Linked DNA regions of Homo sapiens: region 2 is linked to region 1. The links are contacts of gene promoters, found by promoter capture Hi-C in human tissues and cell types (Jung and others, 2019). All regions are on one chromosome and are shown on one strand. Each heading gives the region's core, a stretch centred on a gene start or on the middle of the fragment in contact. The rest is flanking DNA. Distances are from core to core; before and after follow the strand shown.

Evidence for each region. Contacts are between HindIII fragments. The study calls those that stand out against the background at their distance.
Region 2: a contact is called between a fragment that was not itself captured here and the fragment with the promoter of ABCC3 in region 1, in 2 of the 25 tissues and cell types used here (liver and thymus).

The regions. Positions count from the first base shown.
Region 1 is chr17:50,632,925-50,636,130 of GRCh38, reverse strand. It overlaps ABCC3 (ATP binding cassette subfamily C member 3), which reads right to left and starts at 1,250. Exons shown (of 31, transcript NM_003786.4): 1 at 1,150-1,250. The coding sequence starts at 1,194. RefSeq lists a silencer at 1,231-1,280. The HindIII fragment of the contact is 6,790 bases long and covers 1-3,206 here.
Region 2 is chr17:50,217,295-50,220,500 of GRCh38, reverse strand. No RefSeq gene overlaps it. Among named protein-coding and RNA genes, the nearest start is that of TILAM, 4.2 kb to the right of the region's middle. RefSeq lists enhancers at 1,428-1,477, 1,479-1,773 and a silencer at 1,479-1,773. The HindIII fragment of the contact is 4,120 bases long and covers 1-3,206 here.

The DNA of each region.
Region 1 (3,206 bases), core at 1-2,500:
ATGACCACAGAGAAGCACCTTTAATCTGAGCTCCCTCTGTAAAACGGAGACCACATGATCACTTGCCTCATAGAGGCAAGTAAGTTTTGCAAGTTGGTAAGAAAGCTCCTAGGCTGTATGCACTTAGCTCACCTGAACTGTGCTGGAGGCTGGAGTCAGCAGGCTGAAGAGCAGCCTGTCTTAGAAAGAGATTTGGAGTGAGAGTCACCAAAGGCTTGATTTTCTTTTCTTATTTATTTATTTTTTTAGAGACAGGGTCTCACTCTTTCGCCCAGGCCACAGTGCAGTGGTGCGATCATAGCTCACAGTAATCTAAAACTCCTGGGCTGAAGTGATCCTCCCACCTCTGCCTCCCAAAGGGTGGGATTACAGGCGTGAACCACTGCACCTGGCCTGTAGCCTGTTTTTCTATCCCAGCTCTGCCTTCATTGAACTGGGTAACTTTGGGCAAGTCCCTTCCTCTCTCTGGGCCTCCCTTTCTCCATCTGTGAGAAGGGAGTTGGACTACAGGAATCCTGACACCCTGCACCTGTCTCCAGACTGGGGTCTGCTTCTCCCTTCTGAGTCCGGAGTGGTGGGGATGGCCTGCTCTCAGACCTCAGTCTTACCTAGAGAAAAGAAGGTGGCAGGAAACCTTCCTAAGAAGGGTGGGACACTGCACAGCCGGCCTCCCAAAACACCTGGTTGAGCAGGTGCTCTGGATGCCCTGGGGGCAATCCATGCCCAGGTGGGCAACCGAGTCCTAACCTGAGGCAGATGCTGAGGGAAGACCCTCCATCAGGAACCCGCGGCTGATTGCGAAACGCCCCTTCCGCACCCGACGGAGGGGCTGGGATGGAGCCGACTCACCCAGCCACGCACTGTGCCTTTGCGCCCCAGCCGCGCACTCTTCCTCACTTTCCCGGGCTCCCCAGTGCTGCAGCCGGGAAGGGCAGAGCAGGGCAGGTCCCCGACACCGCGTGGGACCCGGCTCCGGGCGGCGCAGCCAACCTCCCTCCCGAGCCCATCGCCCCCTCCCGGGCGCCCAGGCCGTCTCAGGGGCTCCGTCCCGGGATACCTGCCGGCCCCGCGGGAAGGCAGGCGGCGGGGACCGGGCGAAGCCGGCCGACCCTGGCCCCCGCGCAGTGACCCCGGAGCCCCGCGCCTTACCCAGAACTTGGAGCCGAGCTCCCCGGAACCGCACAGGGCGTCCATGGGGCCGAGGCGCGGCTGCAAGGAAGGCGAGCGCGGTCGGACCCAGCGGCGGGCAGAGCGGGCGCCGGAGCCGCCTCCGCCCTCCGCACCCCGCGCTCCGCCCGGACCCGCCCTGCCGAGCCCTACCCCAGTGCCTCTGGGTCCGGTCTCCCTGCCCCCGTCCCGCGGGTTGCGACAGCGCCTCCCTGGGAGGGACTTTGGGGCAGAGGTGGGGGGGCCCTTGGCACGGCGACAGCCCCTGCGAGCGGCCCCTGGGCCAAGCCAGGGGGATGTCTCTCTAAATACCGAGGCTAACAGTCCAGGAGTCGAGTCTATTTCCAAGGGGGAACTGGGATACACAGGCGCTCCCACTCCCGAACAAGTCCGTGGGGCCGATGAGTCATTGAGTAGGGGACGTAGGGAGAGGGATTTAACAATCTTTCCTAGTAAAAAAGGAATCTTTGAGAAGGTCACGTTCCTCTCCGGAGGTCAGTTTCCTCATCTGTAAAATGGGAAGGGCTTCTGTGCTCAATCAGGAAGCTGACCTCTTCCCCATCAGGTTCCAGAGACCACTGGCAGGCGCCACACGGGGAGCACACGGGGTGTGCTCCGCGGGTGTGTACCCGTGAGGCGGGGGTGGGGGCCGCAGCATCGTCCAGCGGGGGCCTCTTATGTCCTCTTAAACTGCTGCCCTCTTAGGCTCTGTGGCTCCCTGACCTTGCCACATCACCTCGGCACGTCTCTGGGCCTCTACTTTCACATCCGTAAAATAGAGACAATCATAGAAGAGAATCTTCCTCCCAGGGTTCTCTGAGGATTGAATGGAAAGGGTAGGCAAAGCGTATTTCCTGGCACACTTAGTGGGCACCCAACATGTGTGAATTCCCTCTGCTTCAGCCTGATCAGGGTTGGGGGGGGAAGGACAGGTGAAGCCCCAGGAGGAGCCCCACGTGAGTGTCCTCGTCCTCGTCCTCCTCCTAAGGCTGAAACTCTACATTCCTGATCTGTAAAATGGGCTTGTCAGTGCTCTCCTTCTCCTGCTTGCCTCAGCTCTCCTTCTCCCGGTATCCCCTCAGATGCGGGGATCCCTCCATCTCTCAATCCCGCTGTTGCCCTGTCTTCCTTAACACAATCCCAGACGCCAACTCAGCACCGCTTGTTGGGGCTCAGAAGGAATTCTCCCTGGCAAATCTTTCCCTGGCCCTTCTCTTCCCTGCCTTTGCCCACAGGTCTGTCCAGTTTCACCCCGGTGACCCCTTTTCTGGCCCTTGTTCTCAAGAGAAGGTGTTTCCTTCCTTGGCTGCTCAGCGGCAGGTGTGGGTGGGAGCCAGTAAGAGTGCAGAAGGGGCAAGCCACCTCCTATCTCTCTGGGCAGCCAGGAGGTCACTAGAAGGGAAGTCTCCTTGGCTATAGGCTATCAGAACCAAGATCTGGCTGGGCATGGGATAGGGGTGGGAGTGGAGAAGATTCCCCTTTCCCAGGCAGTCAGACCAGGGACTTCTACCCCTCCACTGGGCAAGTTCTTTCAGCCCCTTCTTTGTCTGCCCTCTTCCTTTCCACTCATCCACACATACCCTCCCTCTCCTGTCCCCCTACCTTCATCTCTGGGCAAAATACTTTACAGAGCTTTACACCTTGTTACGGCGTGCCTTGGATTATATTTAGTTATGAAGAGTCTGTCTTCCCTGCTAATCTGAGAGGTCCCCAAGGGCAGGGACTAACTCAGTCCCCTCCAATCCCCCTCCATACCTTTTATACACTGTGTGATCTCAATAAGCTCCTTGATGCCTCTGGGACTTCATTTCTTGAGAAACGTGGACAGGGTGATATCTAAGCTCTCTTCCAGCCCTGGTGGGCCAGGCTTCTATGGCCTAGGCAGCTGGGAACCTTCCTCCACCCCTTCCATGACCCTGGTCATGGCTTCATCAGCACCCACTGCCCCTGTGTTTTGACCTTGTCTACCCACCGGCTTCCTCCAACTCTCCCTCCTCTCCCATTCCTTTTCTAGGGCTTGTGGGGTCATAGGCACCAGA
Region 2 (3,206 bases), core at 394-2,893, 420 kb after region 1:
TAAACCCGAGCATTCTGGACACTGTCCTTTAGGTCTTTTTGCAGACATCCAAGTCTGGGGGAAAGAGTCTTTGGGGCAAGGAGCATAAAAAGTTTCTGGGTCCTCTCCTAGCCTCTCCCCTCCAAGCTGGGTGGCTTTGGGGAGAAGCTCTCTGAGCTTCTGGGTTCTCGTCTATAAAATGGGGATACTAGCATTTTCCTCACTGGACTTTGAGCAGAACAGCTGGGACAGAGCTGTTGGACATGGAGCAGAGCATTGCTTTTGTTTGAGCAAGAGCTAGTGACCCACCAGAAGGCTGTGACAAGGGTCAGCTCAGCTAACACAGCAGGGCTGCGCTGGACAAGCAGGGCTCACAGGATCCTAGGGGCCTCCCTGGATTCCCTATGGGATTTCTTTATCTGCCATGGAATGCAGCCTCGGCAGCAACGGGAGTGTTCTCACACTCAACATCAGCAGCCCTTACTGGGCATTGAGCTCATACATCAACCACCCACTTTAAACAAGTTTTAAAACAACAGTGTATTTCTAAAATCATTTTTGAAATGCAACTGTGTAAAAGTAACATGAAGGATAATTGTTACATATCAGGGAGGGTGATGATACCTTCTGAAAATTTCCGCCAGTACGTCTGCGCCCTGTGTGACAGTAGGAGCCATAAGGAGTTTTCATATCCTGTCAGTTTCTTTTCTTATTCCTTATTCGTACCAAATTAGAAAAATCCTAAACCACAATTATAGGTCATTAGAAATGGCAGCAAATGTTTGGTGGCTCTGACAGATGGTTCTGGATTCAGACCAAACAAGAATTCAGAAATCACAGACCTCTTTCTTCCTAAAGACTGCTCTCCCCTCTCTCGGACATTAGGTCAACAGGTACAAAGCTTTCAAAAGCCAGAAGACTAAGTATTTCACCCAGGGAGAGGGGGGCGGCGGTGGGGGGGAGCAAGCAGAGTCATAATCCTTTCTTTGGTTGAATTTGACTCCGGAAAGAATTCTTTAAGTTCTGAGTAATGTTTGGATGTGGTTTTTAAATAGTCTTAATAATATGTCACCGATTCCTTTCTCCTGCTCAGAAACAAAATCACCAAGTGCTGAAAAAGAATCAAAATAAAAATGGAGCAGTCATACTGCTGTTTGGTTTTAAGAAATTCTGCTAACTTGCTCCTCAACAGTAAATATTGTAATTGGTGATGTCTGGACAATACAGATATTGAATATATTGCCATTTGAGCAAGTCACTCAGGATCTCAGAAGTGGCCTTGAGTGGAGAAATGGGGGGGGTTTTGGTTTTGTTTTGTTTTGTTTGAGAAAGAGTCTCACTCTGTTGCCCAGACTGGAGAGCAGTGGCATGATCTCAGCTCACTGCAGCCTCTGCCTCCCAGGCTCAAGTGATCCTCCCACCTCAGCTCCTCACCACCCCACCCCAGTAGCTGGAACCACAGGCATGCACCACCATGTCTGGATGATTTTGTTTGTACTTTTTGTGAGACAAGGTTTTGCCATGTTGCCCTGACTGGTCTTGAACTCCTGGACTCAAACAATTTACCCGCTTTGGCCTCCCAAATGCTGGAATTTCAGGCATGAGTCACCAGACCCAGCAGCACATCATTGATTTTTAGCCAGCTTCACATGGGGCCACAAGAATGTTTGAAAAAGATGAAATGAAACCATTTCCTTAAGTCATTGACTAGGCCACTGAAGATCAGTTCTAAGATCTTAAACAGCTTGCTCAGATGACAATATATGTAATAACTGACAGTTCAAACCTCACCTTAGAGGAATAAAATGTCATTATCTTTTTTAAAATTTTGGTATTACACAAACTATCACTGGGCAAAAACTTACATTTTTCAATGAGGAGTATAAGATAGCCGGATTTATTAAAATCAAACTATTTTCTCATAATATTTGCAATTGACACCACGTGATATCCAACACTGTCATTTGATAAAGGAAATTTGCCAAAAGTTGGTTTTTCATTCTCTGTGAGAGAAATGTGTATCATTAATAACACGGCTGTGTTACAATCTTCTCAGATAGTATTACTTTGTAGCTGTGTTTTACTAAGAGGAGTGCACTTTTAAATGCTGCCTCTGTCATTTTGTTTTTCTTCCTGCCTTTACTGGGGGAAAATCCATTAATTTTGTCCTGGAAAGCTTATTTTGCTCTTGTTCTGGAAAAAAAAGAAAAGTCTCTGATGGTTTACCAGAAAGGTCACTGTGCTGTGTTTGAAAATGATGTGAAAATCTTGATGGCTTTATGCCACTATTTGACAAAGTTTCATAACACACAACTCACTGGGGATTAAAATGGAATAGATCACCAGTCCAGTAAAGTTAAGTTCAGATCTTCAACATCATACTCACTATTTACACTTTTTCAGCTACTTGTGTGAAATTGTCAGATGTGTCCCAGTTCTCAGAGATTTACATATTTTTGAACTAGATGCTTGTTCACTATGTATTTACTTTTCTTCTTTCTTCCTTTTTTTTTTTTTTAGCCCAGCCATATGCTTGGACACTACGTATTTACTTTTATAACACTATTCTCAGTTGTAGTATTTGGGTTACTATTTTTCTCACTCTTCTTAGGCTTTAATTAACCACTTTTGAATCACTGGCTTATTATTTGGGTTGAGGATATTACACATCACAAAAATAATAACCAAAAACCCATAAGTGACATGAAAATATGTCTCTGGAGATGATCTGCCCAAGCTGGATCAGCCAAATTCAAATTAGAGGATGCACAACGTTGGAGAATGTGACAGTTATTAAGAACAAAATGGGGCTGGGTGCAGTGGCTCACGCCTGGAATCTCAGTGCTCTGGGAAGCTGAGGCAGGAGGATTACTTGAGCCCAAGAGTTCAAGACCAGCCTGGGCAACAATGTGAGAGCTTATCTCTAAAAAAAATTTAAGGATTAGCTGTACATGGTGGCGTGCGCCTGTAGTCCCAGCTACTCAGGAGGTTGAGGCAGGAGGGTAATTTGAGCCCAGTTCAAGACTGCAGTGAGCTATGATCACACCACTGCACTCCAGCCTGAGGGACAGAGTGAGAACTTGTCTCTGAAATAAATAGATAGATAGATAGATAGATAGATAAATGTACAAGATGGGATTGTTGCAAGAATCTTAATCAATTAATCAATTTTGCATTTCAGATTTATGAGTAGAGCAATTCCATCCTTTTTTTCCTTAGAGGTTTCC